Regions from separate parts of the Homo sapiens genome. Here regions 2, 3 and 4 are each linked to region 1. The links are contacts of gene promoters, found by promoter capture Hi-C in human tissues and cell types (Jung and others, 2019). All regions are on one chromosome and are shown on one strand. Each heading gives the region's core, a stretch centred on a gene start or on the middle of the fragment in contact. The rest is flanking DNA. Distances are from core to core; before and after follow the strand shown. Region 1 holds the start of LINGO3 (leucine rich repeat and Ig domain containing 3). Region 2 overlaps GNG7 (G protein subunit gamma 7). Region 3 holds the start of MKNK2 (MAPK interacting serine/threonine kinase 2). Region 4 overlaps GNG7 (G protein subunit gamma 7).

Region 1 (3,319 bases), core at 470-2,969:
AGTCACAGGTGGCTGCGTGAGTGCCAGGCCACCGCCAAAGCCACTGGGAATACACAGCTGGTGGGGAGGACTGCAGAGTGGGTGAAGGGGGCAGACAGGGCAAGGTTACACACACAGGTTCCCGAGGCCTCCTTCTCACCCCTCACTTGGGACAAATGGCATCTCCCAGCCTTGGTTTGCTCATCTGTGAGACAGGGAGGCTAAATGTGGCTTTTAGAAGATGCAGTGAGGGGCCGGGCATAGTAGCTCACGTCTGTCATCCCAGCACTTTGGGAGGCCGAGGCGGGTGGATCACCTGAGGTCAGGAGTTCGAGACCAGCCTGGCCAACATGGTGAAACTCTATCTCCCCTAAAAATACAAAAATTAGCCAGGCATGGTCATGGGCGCCTGTAATCCCAGCTACTTGGGAGACTGAGACAGGAGAATCGCCTGAACCCGGGAGGTGGAAGTTGCAGTGAGCCAAGATTGCACCACTGCACTCCAGAATGGGTGACGAGAGCAAAACTCCATTTCAAAAAAAAAAAAAAAAAAAAAAGACAAAAAAAAAGGTAAAAAACTTTCCATGAGCACTCGCAGTGCACTTGGTGTGTGCGCTGCTGTGTGCTAGGCGGAAGGCACATTGGGGAACAAGCCCATTAGACAAACTGAGAGGCTCCAAGCTGCTCGATGGAGGGACAGAGAGAAAGGCTGTCCAAGCTGGGCACAGCGAAGATCAAAGGCCTGGGACTGGAGGGACTTGGCCTGTTTGAGGAAGGCTGAGGGGGTGGAGCCCGGGAAAGAGTGAGTGAGGACAGGCCAGGGGGAAGGAGGTGGTGCGGCAGACCAAACAGTGCAGGCAGCCGGGCGGTGGCTCACACCTGTCATCCCAGCACTTTGGGAGGCCGAGGTGGGTGGATCACCCGAGGTCAGGGGTTTGAGACCAGCCTGGCCAACATGCTGAAAATCCGTCTCTAATAAAAATACAAAAATTAGCCGGGCGTGGTGGCGGGTGCCTGTAATCCCAGCTACTTGGGAGGCTGAGGCAGGAGAATCGCTTGAACCCAGGAGGCGGAGGTTGCAGTGAGCCAAGATGGCACCGCTGTACTCCAGCCTGGGCAACAGAGCAAGACTCCATCTCAAAAAAAAAAAGAAAGAAAGAAAGAAAGAAAGAACGAAAGAAAGAGAAATTCCAGGGTAGGTGGGGTGCAGACGGGACCCTCACGGCAATAGGGAATCACGGCAGGTTCTGGAGCCCAGTGGCTAAGCTTCCTCTGAGGGGCTTCCTCTGAGGGCCACATAAGGAATGGGCCTGGGCTGGGCTGTGGCAGATGTCCAGGTGCAGATGGTGGCGGCCTGGACTAGGGGTGGGGGACGGGGGGCAGAGGAGGCGATGGTAGCTTCCAGAAGGTTCCACACGGAACAACCTGCTGCACTTGGGGTGCCCCTGCGTTTATTGCACGGCACGGCCGTCTCCGCAGGCTCACCCAGGCCGTGGGGACAGGAGGTCCTCGGACACGAAGCGCCCGGGATGCGCACGGAGGGGTTCTGCACCCGCGCTCCCAGTGTCCCCGCACCTGCGCCCACGTGGCCTCTCACACCTGCGGCCCCAGCCGCCGCGCACGCGGCCCAGCGCAGCCCCCGCGCGCCCCCGCCAGGCGCGCCGAGGAGACCGGCGGGCGGTTGCGCGCGGCGGCGGCGCGCACGGCGGAGCCCGGGAGGCGGCGGCGGCGGCGGCGGCGGCGGCGGCGGCTGCTCGTGTCGGCTCCGGGCGGCCCCCGCGCCGCAGCCCGCGCCGTGTCCGCGGCGGAGCCGCCCAGGTGAGTGGCCGTGCCGGGGCCCGGCGTGGGGCGCGCCCGCAGACCTGGGGACCCCTCACCTGCACCCTGCGACCCTGCCGCCCAAAGCCCCCAACCCGCGACCCCATCCTCAGCCGGGGGAAATTGCCCCGCGCACCCCTCCCGGGCTCATCGCTCCTTGCCAGGCCCCCGACGCTCCCCCTGGAAACTTTGGGGGCGAACTCCCCACCCTGGGGCCCCCCGCCCCTCCTCTGGGGCGCCAAGGAGCGGGGAATCGGGTGGGCATCTCCCCGGGGCACTGGGGACGCTGGGAGGATGCGCTCCTCTCCAGGAGGAGATGAAGGGGGCACTGGTTGGGTCTGGGGTGTGGGGAACGTCCGAATAGAGCCTGCAGCCCGCGCCTTCCTGCCCTGTCTCCCCCGAGCCGGGTCTGGTCCAGCCTGGGGGTGCGGAGCTGGAAGACGCAAAGGGTATCTGGGGTCCACACCGGAGCCTGCTCCATCGCTGGAGCTGACGGCCCGGCCTGGCGGGGAGGGACCTGGGGGCATAGGGCTGAGTCCCCCTGCTCTGGGGGCGTCTGAATAGCACCAGAAATGGTGGGCCTGGGCACCCTGAGTGGGTGCCGCCACCTCCCGGGCCTCTGGGGCCTGGCCAGGGGAGGCCCTGAGTCCCATTCAACAAGTTTAGGGGAGCAGCACCTCGTGCCTTGGTCCGGGCACAAGAAAAGCCCCGGGTCCTTACGCTGGAGACCACCATGTAACTGGGTTTCTCAACGTGTGCTTGGGGCGCTAACGGTGCCGGTGTCCCGGCCCCCCCAGTTCTGAGGAGTCAGAACTTCTGAGGCGATGTGCCCCAGAAGCTGCATTTTAGCAAGCGGTCCCTGGCTAAACCATGGACGCAGCGAGGCTGCAGACACCCTTGCTCCGGCGGGGGTGGGGAGCGGGCGTCTGCTGTGCAGTGGTATTTGCAGAGGGACGATCTGGGGCTTGGCTGGGGGGAGCCTTCAGGGACAACAGAGCTGTGAGAACCAGAGCAACCCAGGAGGGCTCCCTGGAAGTGGCCTGGAGAGGATGCAGAAGGTGTGAGGTGTGAGTGGTCAGGTGGAGGACGCAGGCTGGAAACAGGTTCAGGGAGGGTGGTGCTGGCTTTATCAGGAGGCTGGTGTGGGGTGGGCTGCCGCGGCATGGCCTTACCCTGGCTGTTCTCTGAGCCGAAGCAGCAGCCATCGTCGGAGACAGGATCTGAGTGGGAAGAACCCACGGGCTTCCCCTGTAGACCCAGCTCCTGTCCCCATCTCGATGATGTGGGGTGGCAGGAAGGGGGCAGCCGGGCGGTGGGATGGGGGCTTAGGAGGGTTCAACTCAGCCTTCCCTGCCCTGCCTGTCTGGTCTTCACCGGTGACTTCCGGCAAATGACGTCCCCTCTCTCAGATCCACCCCACATGGGATTAAATGAGATGCTGCCCACCTCGGCTGCAGTGTGGTGCCACCATAAAACAGATGCTCAGGTCACGATGGTTACGGCAGCAGCCCTGCCTGGCCTC
Region 2 (3,243 bases), core at 184-2,683, 290 kb before region 1:
CCCAGGCTGGTCTCAAACTCCTGAGCTCAGGCAATCCACCCGCCTCGGCCTCCCAAAGTGCTGGGATTACAGGCATGAGCCACTGCACTCGGCCCTTAAATTTAATTTCCTTTCAGCCGGGCATGGTGGCTCACACCTATAATCCCAGCACTTTGGGAGGCTGAGGTGTGTGGATCAATCAACTGAGGTCAGGAGTTCAAGACCGGCCTGACCAACATGGCAAAACCCCGTCTCTACTAAAAATACAAAAATTAGCCGGACGTGGTGGCGGGCGCCTGTAATGCCAGCTACTTGGGAGGCTGAGGCAGGAGAATCGCTTGAACCCGGGAGGTGGAGGTTGCAGTGAGCCAAGATCACGCCACTGCACTCCAGCCTGGGCAACAGAGTGAGACTCCGTCTCAAAAAAAAAAAAATTTAATTTCTTTTGAGACAGGGTCTCGCTCTGTTGCCCAGGCTGGAGTGCAGTGGTGCCATCATGGTTCACTGCAACCTTGACCACCTGGGCTCAAGCGATCCTCCCACCTCATCCTTTCAAATAGCTGGGACTACAGGTACGTGCCACCATGCCCAGCTAATTTTTTTGTATTTTTTGTAGAGATGAGGTCTTGGTATGTTGCCCAGGCTGGTCTCAAACTCCTGTCCTGAAGCAATCAGCTCGCCTCAGCCTCCCAAAGGGCTGGGATTACAGACGTGAGCCACCACGCCGGGCCATTAAAGACATTTTTGAGATAATCATGGACAATGGGTCACAGGCTGGTTATTGGTAACAGGAAATTATTGTTGATAATCATGGAGCAAGTTGATAATAAGACAGTGTTAATTTGATTGGGTGGTTCTGTGTTGGGAAATCAGAAAGCTTCAGTGATTAGAGAACATTCTGAAGGTTCTACAGGCAAAGTCATATGATGTCTTGAATTTGTGTGAAATACCCGTGCAAAGCTGGAGAGAGAAGTGAGAACAGAAGAAGGGCAGAATGTTAATTCCCGTTGCAGGAGGTGACGACACTCAGAGAGACCTCGTCCTGGCCTGCGTGCTTCAGGCTGTGTTTGAAATTTTCCACTATATGTAATTTTTTAAATTTGCAGTTTCTTTCTTCCTCCTTCCTTCCTTCCTTCCTTCCTTCCTTCCTTCCTTCCTTCCCTCCTTCTTTCTTTCCTTCTTTCTTTCTTTCTTGAGGGAGTCTCACTCTGTCGCCTAGGCTGGAGTGCAGTGGTGTGATATCTCGGCTCACTGCAACCTCTACCTCCCAGGTTCAAGCGATTCTCCTGCCTCAGCCTCCCAAGTAGCTGGGACTACAGGTGCCCACCACCACACCCAGCTAAGTGTTTTGTATTTTTAGTAGAGATGGGGTTTCTCCATGTTGGCCAGGCTGGTCTCGAACTCCTGAGCTCAGGTGATCCGCCCGTCTTGGCCTCCCAAAGCGCTGGGATTACAGGCGTGAGCCACTGTGCCCGGCCTTGATTTGCAGTTTCTGTAAACAACTTGTATAATAGAAAAGCAGAGAAATAAATTTTCCTCCCCTTCAGAAGCACCTCATGTTTGTTTTAAAGTATAGTATTTAATCCAGATTTGAGAAGGTTTGGGGTGAATGAGGTAAGAAAGTTTTTTTTTTTTTTTGGCATCAAATATTTCGGCCTGCCTCTCAGCTTGCTTCAGAAAACTTAAAACATCACAATAGTAATCAAAACATATATAACATTGAAACAGAAGGAAATGGCATGGACCACAGAACTCCAAGGATTGTTTAAAAAAAAAAAAAAAGTGCTACCCCGGGAAAAGTATTTGCAATTTTTTTTTTTTTTTAGATGGAGTCTCACTCTGTTGCCCAGGCAGGAGTGCAGTGGCACAATCTCGGCTCACTGCAAGCTCCGTGTCCCAGGTTCAAGCGATTCTCCTGCCTCAGCACCCCTAGTAGCTGGGACTACAGGCAGCCGCCCCCATGCCCGGCTAATTTTTGTATTTTTAGTAGAGACGAGGTTTCGCCTTGTTGCCCGGGCTGGTCTCGAACTTCTGACCTCAGGTGATCCACCTACCTCAGCCTCCCAAAGTGCTGGGATTACAGGTGTGAGCCACCACGCCCAGTCCTACTCTTAATACTTTTGAAATCTTTAGAGCAGCTTGAAGGCTTGTAAATATATAGAACGAATATTTTAAAAAACAAAAATTGACTCAATACTATTTCTTTTCACTTTGAAAATATAAAGCACAAAATAAAGACAAACATTCCAAGTTTTTTTTTTAAAAAAGGAATTTTCCACTATACATTTTTAAGAGAGGCAGAGATTAAGAACAACATCAGGCCGTTGGTGACCAAGACCAGAAGCCTCTCCCCTCAATCTGGGTGGCCACAGGCCACTTCTCACCACCCGGTGCCCTGTCCTCTTTGAAGTTTTTAGTCTGTGCTGGATTTTCTTACTTTTTTGTGACCTCAGCTGTTGGTTAGAAAGAGTATGCATTTTCTTTTCTTTTTTTTTCCTCCCTCCCTCTCCTTCCTTCCTTCCTTCTTTCCTTCCTTCCTTTTCTTCTTTCTTTTTTTCCCTTCTCCTTTCCCCTCCCTCCGTCCCTCTCTCCCTCCCTCCCTTTCTTTCTTTCTTCCGTCCTTCCTTCCTTCCTTCCCTCCCTCTCCTTCCTTCCTTCTTTCCTTCCTTCCTTCGTTTTCTTCTTTCTTTTTTTCCTTCTCCTCTCCCCTGCCTCTCTCCCTCTCTCCCTCCCTCCCTCTCTCTCTCTCTCTTTCTTTCTTTCTTTCTCTCTTCCCTCCCTCCCTCTCCTTCCTTCCTTCCCCTCCCCCTCCCCTCCCCTCCCCTTCCTTCCCTCTCCTTGTTGCTCTGTCACCCAGGCTGGAGTGAAACGATGCAATCATAGCTCACTAGAGCCTCGACCTCCTGGGCTCAAGCAATCCTTCTGCCTCAACGTCCTGAGTAGCTGGGACCATGGGCACATACCAGCACACCTGGATGCTTTTTAAAAATTTTTTCTAGAGATAGGATCTTGCTATGTTTCCCAGGCTGGTCATGAACTCCTGGGCTCAAGCGATCTTCCTGCCTCAGTCTCCCAAAGTGCTGGGATTACAGGCATGAGCCACTGCACCTGGCCTTTGTTCATTTCTTTCATCCAGTCTTGCTTGGGTTTTAGAGGAGGAGAGATTTAAAGTGATGTTTTCTGCCACATTGCTAGAAATAAAAATGCTGTGATAGAAGGAGCAATTTTTTTTTAATGTAGCAACTCTACTTTTCAGCCTTTTGA
Region 3 (3,199 bases), core at 1-2,500, 260 kb after region 1:
TGTTTGTGCGTGTATGTGTTCACACGCACACACACGCACCCACATGCACAATAAGGGGGGCTGGGGGACCTGGTTTTCTGTCCCCCCATTGCCAAGAGTCAGGGCAATGCCAGGTGCTGGGCTGGGTTCTGGCTGGGAATTCCCCACAGGCTTCCCCCCAATGCCCCGGGGGTGGCTGAGGCCAGGCCTCCCAGCCCCTGTGGCCTGAGAGCTGTGGCCTTGCAGGCAGGGGCCCTCCAGCTTCAGGTCAGTGGGGCTCCAGCCCCTCTTGAGCTCAGGGCCTGGTTGGGGGATGGTGGGATGGGCTGTGCGAAGCTTCTGGAAACCCCTGCAGAAGAGGAGACCACAGTCCACCCAGCAGGGGAACCCCCACTCCTTGTGTGCCCCAGGCCCGGGGCCTGGGGAGCACTTTGAACCAGGATGCTGTGGGATGGGGGACTGGCAGCTCAGGACAGGCTGATTCTATCTAAGCCTGGTTTGGGGCCCCAGCCAAAATGGGACTGTGTTTTACTTCCTGTCCTGGCGACCATCCACCCCTTGGGCTCTTTCCCAGTGGGTCTCAGGTCCCAGTTCTCCCTGAAATGCTATTCGAGGACAGAGGAAGGGTCCTTCACAGACCTCGGTCCCCACCCTCTACTCTGGTTCCTGCCAACCACAAAGCAAACTCGGGGAGCTCAGTGCTCCCCAGGCAGGGTGGCCCAGGGGAAGAAGAAAGTAGGTGGCGGTGGCTGGTCCCCCAGCACTAGAAGGGAGTGGCTGGGACTCCAAGCGTGCTGGTGGTGCACGAGGGGGACTGCTGGAGCCAGCACTGGAGAACTGCAAGAGGGAGCCATGGCAGGTTCTAGAGCGAGGGCATGAACCAAGGGAGTCGGGGTATACTAGGCCTGGGTTGACAGGCCAAGGGAGTTGCCCTGTGTGGGGCCAGGCGGTAGGACACGGCCCAGGGCCTCGCAGGTCCCACGGGCCCCGCGAGCCTCAGGCGGCAAAAACAGGCCAGCTCCGGGCGCGCCGCAGGGTCGCTGCCTAGGTTCCGCACCGAGACCCCCGTGCGCCGCACTGCGCAGGCGTGCGCTAGCCGTTTCGGACACGCCCCACCGCCGGAGCGCGCAGCCGCACTGGGTTCCCGGAGAGCGCCCTCTTCTGGCTCCGCCCACGTCGTGCGCAGGGGGTGAGGCCGGGCGGAGCCTGCGTCGGGGGCGGGGCCAGAGCAGGTCCGGGCCTATAAAGGTGGCGGCGGCGGCGACGCGCCCGGCTCCTCTCAGCGGCGGTGGCCCAGGTAGAGGGGTCCGCGCTGGCGGCGGCGGCGGCGCTGTTCCCCGCGCGGTCCGCGGAGCGGGGTCCGGGCTGCGCGACGTGGGGCGGCGGCGGCACTGCGGCCCCGGCCCAAGCCCGACCCCGGTGAGTGCGAACCCCAGGGCGGCCCCGAGGACACCGACCCGGTAGCGGGAAACGGGCCCCGCGGAGCCCTCGCCGCCCCCGCCCGGTCCGCGCTCCTGGCAGGCCGGGCTCCGCTCACCGCCCTCCCTTTGTCTGCTCCCGCCCGCAGGGTCCCCTCCTCGGCCGCCCCCCGCCCGGCCGCCCGCCCTCGGGCCTCCCCCCGGGCCCTCGGTCCCCTCCCCCGCTGGCGGGGCCCGGACAGAAGATGGTGCAGAAGAAACCAGCCGAACTTCAGGGTTTCCACCGTTCGTTCAAGGTGAGGCCCGGGGTCGGTTTGGGGGCGCTCCGGGCTGGACCACCGGAATGGCCGGCGTGGGGGGCGCGGGGCCCGCCCCTAAGATCGGCTCCCGGGGCTCGTGCCTGGCCCCCGCCCTACACCCGGGGCTGCCCGGGCCGGCCGTGCGCTGAAGCGGGGTCGGTGTGCGAGGATGGGGGTTCAGCAGGCCACAGTCCTCTCTCCAGCCATGGCCGCCGGGTCCTTCCTCCAGGACCCCCAAGTGAGGCTGGGAGCAGGAGCCCCCTCCGGGTCAGGGCACCAGGCTGTGTGTCCCCTGCAAGCCCCCGCCGGGTATGTTCTGGGGGGTCAGCAGGCTGCAGTCCTGTCCCAGTCGCTGCATGTGGCTTATGGGGGGTGTCCCCTGCAAGCTCCAGCTGGTTGTGCCCTGGTGGGGACGGGTCAGCGGGCCACAGTCCCATTCCCACCTCCATGTGGCTTCTGGGGACTTTCTTTCAGAATCCCCAGGCCGGGCTGGTCAGGTGCACCCACCCCCAGGGGGCCTGTGCCGTGGGGGAGGGGATGGGATGTCCCCTCAGCCCTGCACTTCGCAGACACCCCAGGCCCAAGTGCTGTTTCCTGTCGGAGCGGGAAGTTTCTGCGCAGCCCGGGTGGTGACTGCTGTTGAGTGCTGGTTTCAGATGAGCAAATCTTGGGGGGGAAGGGGAGGGCAGGTGCTGGGCAGGGGCCCCGCAGGACCTGGCCCAGGGGACGCAGTGATGTCAGCCGGCCCGCCCCACCCCTCAGGCCGGGGTTATGTAATCGCTTCACTGGGCTTCCTTGGGCAGGGACCTGTTGCCCGGTAGGGAAGGCAGGACTGGAGAGAGGAAGAGAGAGTGTGAGTGTATGTGTGTGTGTTTGTGTGTGTGTGTGTCTCTGTCTTGTGTGTACACACAACGCGGTGCTCCAGGGTGGGAGGAGCAAAGAGAGACTGGGAAGAATTCCCAGGTCTGTCCAGCCAGTGCCCCAGGGCAGCACTCCACCCCTGCCACCCCTGCCCAGTTTTCCCCTAGGGCAGCAGGCCTGGCACCATCAGAGTGTCAGGGGCTGGGCGGGAAAGAGGAGGACCTGACAGTGGTCTTCTCCCTCCTAGGGCCAGGCATGAGCTGATACAGAGTCAGTGCATGGGGCCAGCCAGGCAGCTAAAGCACACTTGAACTTTCTAGATGGTTCCAGCCACCTCCTGCCAAGGCCTGCTGACTCGAGTCCCACAGCCAGACCTAGAACAGTGGGACCAGGACCGCCCACACTGCCCAGGATTGTGGGCCGGCCTCTGTGCATGGCCAGGGCAGCCTGGCTGGGAGCTGGGAAGGTGGGCGTCTTGGTGGAGGAGGGCCTGGCAGGCAGTCCTGGCTGTGAGGTGTTCCTCCAGGTGGCCGGGACCGGTTGCTCTAGGAATCTCCCCCCACAGCCCCCACCATGCACGGCTGCTCCCTGGATTGGGGCCACCTCTCCTGAAATACTCTCCTTGCCTCCAGCAGGCAGCAG
Region 4 (3,315 bases), core at 31-2,530, 310 kb before region 1:
AGGAAGAGGCGGGCAGAACCCGGGCCCCACTGCTCTTGGCAGCTCTTGGAAACATCCTCCCCTAGGGCCCTGGTCACCAGCCTTGCCCAAGAACCCACCAGCTATATTTGTCTGGTTTTTTTTTTTGAGATGGGGTTTTGCTCAGGCTGGAGTGCGATGGCGTGATCTCGGCTCACTGCAACCTGCAACCTCTGCCTCCCGGGTTCAAGCAATTCTGCCTCAGCCTCCTGAGTAGCTGGGATTACAGGCACCCGCCACCATGCCCGGCTAATTTTGTATTTTTAGGAGAGACGGGGTTTCTCCCTGTTGGTCAGGCTGGTCTCAAACTCCTGACCTGAGGTGATCCGCTCGCTTTGGCCTCCCAAAGTGCTGGGATTATAGGCATGAGCCACCACACCCAGCCTTTCTTTGTTTGTTTTTTAATAGAGATGGAGTCTCTAGCCTGGCTAACATGACAAAACCTCATCTCTACTAAAAATACAAAAATTAGCTGGGCACGGTGGCACACGCCTGTAATCCCAGCTACTCGGGAGGCTGAGGCAGGAGAATCGCTGGAACACGGGAGGCAGAGGTTGCAATGAGTCGAGATCGTGCCATTGCACTCCAGCCTGGGCAGCAGAGCGAGACTCCGGCTCAAAATAATAATAATAAATTAGAGATGGGGTCTCACTATTTTGCCCAGGCTGGTTTTGAACTCCTGAGCTCAAGGGATCCTCTCGCCTCAGCCTCCCAAAGCACTGGGATCACAGGTGTGAGGTGCCATGCCTGGCCCACACCAGCTGTGTTTAATCAATGCTGGGCAGCCCTGCAGCTTGGTGACATCAGTGGGCCACTGGCTACTGGGTGTTTTTTCCATCCTGCCCTGTTCCCTGCTGGCACCAGGGGAAAAAGGCCCATACAGGAGTCTGTTCCAGGTCACCAGATCCTGGGGTGGCCCGTAAGGATTTGAAGGGGACAGGAGGCGCCCCTTTGCCGAGGCCCTTCACTGTGTCAGGCACATTGCTGGCTGCCGTGGGTGCACAATCTTAGGGAACCCTCCTGCCTCCTCCGCCTTGCTGCTTCCTTGCAAAGAAAATTTCCCACTGCAGAGGGCAGCTTAATTGCTCAGCAGTGGCTCTTCAGAATCTCACAGATGGGCCAGGCGTGGTGGCTCATGCCTGTAATCCCAGCACTTTGGGAGGCCGAGGCGGGCAGATCATGAGGTCAGGACATCGAGACCATCCTGGCTAACATGGTGAAACCCCATGTCTACTAAAAATACAAAAAAATTAGCCAGGCGTGGTGGTGGGTGCCTGTAGTTCCAGCTACTCTGGAGGCTGAGGCAGGAGGATCACTTGAGCCCAGGAGGCTGAGGTTGCAGTGAGCTGTGACTGCACCACTGCACTCCAGCCTGGGCAACAGAGCAAGACCCTATCTCAAAAAAAAAAAAAAAAAAAAAAAAAACCGGAAAAGACAAAGAAAATAGGATGAGGTGGCACCAAGAGGACAGAGTCTGTGCCACGTGGTGTCCAGGAAGGTCTCTAAGGAGAGGACATCCTTGCCGACCCCTGCAGGATGGGGAGGAGCATTGAAGGCAGGAGGAAGGACATTCTGGAGGGCTCCCTGGAGGCGGAGGTCTGGGGGAGCCTGAATGGTGGGAACCTGGGAGGTGGAGTTTGCAGTGAGCCGAGATCGCGCCACTGCACTCCAGCCTGGGCGACAGAGCGAGACTCCGTCTCAAAAAAAAAAAAAAGAGTGTCACAGATGGCACCTTCAGACCAGACAGTGGCCGCCCAGTACCCCGAAAGTGGCCTAGAAAGCGGGGCTATTCCACACACCTTGCCCAGCCCAGCACTGAAGCCAGGGAAGGAGGGCTTGGGCAGGAGCCGCGGCACAAATCACAGCTGCAAGTTCTGGCTCTGCCAATGGCTACGGGGTGACCTTCAACAATCAGCTGCCTGCCTCCTGCCTCAGTGCCTTGTTTAAAAGCTGAGGAACGCCTTGGCATTGAGAATTGATGTGTGATGCAAGATGGGGCAGCCGCCTTGGAAACCAGTCTGGTGGTTCCTCAAAAGGCTGAACGCGGAGTCGCCACATGACCCAGCAATTCCGCTCCTAGTTATCTGCCCAGAGGAATTGGAAGCAGGTGTTCAAATAGAACCTTGCCACAAATGTTCATACAGTACGATTCACAATGGCTAAAAGGTGGAAATGACCCAAGTGTCCGTCCGTGGGTAAATAGATAAACAGCGTGGCCCTCCACACACTGGAACGAGACTCAGCCGTGAACGAGACTCTGACCCAGGCCACGTGCAGCCTGGATGCCCCTTGAGGATGTCACACTCAGTGAGAGATGCCAGATCCAAAAGGCCACACAGTGTGTCATCCTATTTCTATGAAATGTCCAGGACAGGCCAGTCTAGAGAGGCAGGAAGGGGATGTGTGGGTGCCAGGGGCTGGGGAGGGGGATGGGAAGTGACAGCTGATAGGGATGGGGTGTCTTTTTGGGGGGCTGAGAATGTTCTAGAGCTAGCTAGAGATGATGGCTGCACGAATGCCACTGGATGTCTGGAAAGGGAGCTTTTTTGTTGTGTGCATTTCACCACACATGTGCCTGAGACCCGACGTGCAGGGCCCCCCTGCGGGTACACAGAGGGCAGGGAGAGGGTGCTAGGGAAAGTCGCCGCACCTGCTTTCTGGCGACCATGCTCAGGCTGTAGCTGGGGGAACTCTCTTCCCGCCCTCCTGGGACCTCTCGAGCCTCTTGAGTCTGCTCCCAGTGCCGTTCACCGGGTGGTGAGGATGTGGTCTCGCAACAGACGCCTGCAACGGACCCACCTGTGCGAGGCTGGCCCCCTTTACCCCGGGGGTAGGCGCGGGGCCCGAGTTCCCTGGGTGGATTCTGCATTGCACTTGCCGGCCTTTAGATGTCGCTGTGGCCGTGGCCTTCGCTGGCCTTAGGCTGCGAGCTTCTGTCTGATTCGCACCTTTCTCATTCAGGATCCACACACTGCTGCAGTCCGAGTTTCTTGGCATAGCCAGGGTCCCTTGATCTTCCCCCTCACCAATTAATTAAATCAGGATCTCTCCTGCTAGGTACTGTGGACATCTGGGGCTAGATCCTCTGGGGTCTGGCCATCCTGGGCACTGCAGGGTGCTGAGTGGCGTCCTGGCCTCCACCCACTCCATGCCGGGAGCACCTCCAGGCATGACAACCACAAATGTCCCCAGACATTGCCCAGTGTCCCCTGGGGGCAGGATCACCCCTGATTGAGACCCCCCGCCCAGGTTAGGGGAATCCACAGATTCCCCAAGAGACTCTGCATTCCGTGACCA

The links. Contacts are between HindIII fragments. The study calls those that stand out against the background at their distance.
Region 2: a contact is called between a fragment that was not itself captured here and the fragment with the promoter of LINGO3 in region 1, in 2 of the 25 tissues and cell types used here (dorsolateral prefrontal cortex and spleen).
Region 3: a contact is called between the fragment with the promoter of MKNK2 here and the fragment with the promoter of LINGO3 in region 1, in 2 of the 25 tissues and cell types used here (lymphoblastoid cells and spleen).
Region 4: a fragment that was not itself captured here is called in contact with the fragment with the promoter of LINGO3 in region 1 in 8 of the 25 tissues and cell types used here (H1 embryonic stem cells, adrenal gland, dorsolateral prefrontal cortex and 5 more).

What each region holds. Positions count from the first base shown.
Region 1 is chr19:2,306,554-2,309,872 of GRCh38, reverse strand. LINGO3 (leucine rich repeat and Ig domain containing 3) reads left to right here and starts at 1,719. Exons shown (of 2, transcript NM_001101391.3): 1 at 1,719-1,797. The HindIII fragment of the contact is 18,961 bases long and covers 1-3,319 here.
Region 2 is chr19:2,592,303-2,595,545 of GRCh38, reverse strand. All of the region lies in intron 2 of GNG7 (G protein subunit gamma 7), which reads left to right. It also overlaps the pseudogene RN7SL121P. Among named protein-coding and RNA genes, the nearest start is that of MIR7850, 37 kb to the left of the region's middle. RefSeq lists an enhancer at 2,588-3,089. The HindIII fragment of the contact is 5,318 bases long and covers 1-3,243 here.
Region 3 is chr19:2,049,295-2,052,493 of GRCh38, reverse strand. It overlaps MKNK2 (MAPK interacting serine/threonine kinase 2), which reads left to right and starts at 1,250. Exons shown (of 14, transcript NM_199054.3): 1 at 1,250-1,398; 2 at 1,547-1,693. The coding sequence starts at 1,643. RefSeq lists silencers at 1,076-1,615, 2,346-2,535 and enhancers at 2,106-2,165, 2,342-2,998. The HindIII fragment of the contact is 30,775 bases long and covers 1-3,199 here.
Region 4 is chr19:2,613,583-2,616,897 of GRCh38, reverse strand. The region is part of intron 2 of GNG7 (G protein subunit gamma 7); the gene reads left to right. Among named protein-coding and RNA genes, the nearest start is that of MIR7850, 15 kb to the left of the region's middle. The HindIII fragment of the contact is 8,165 bases long and covers 1-3,315 here.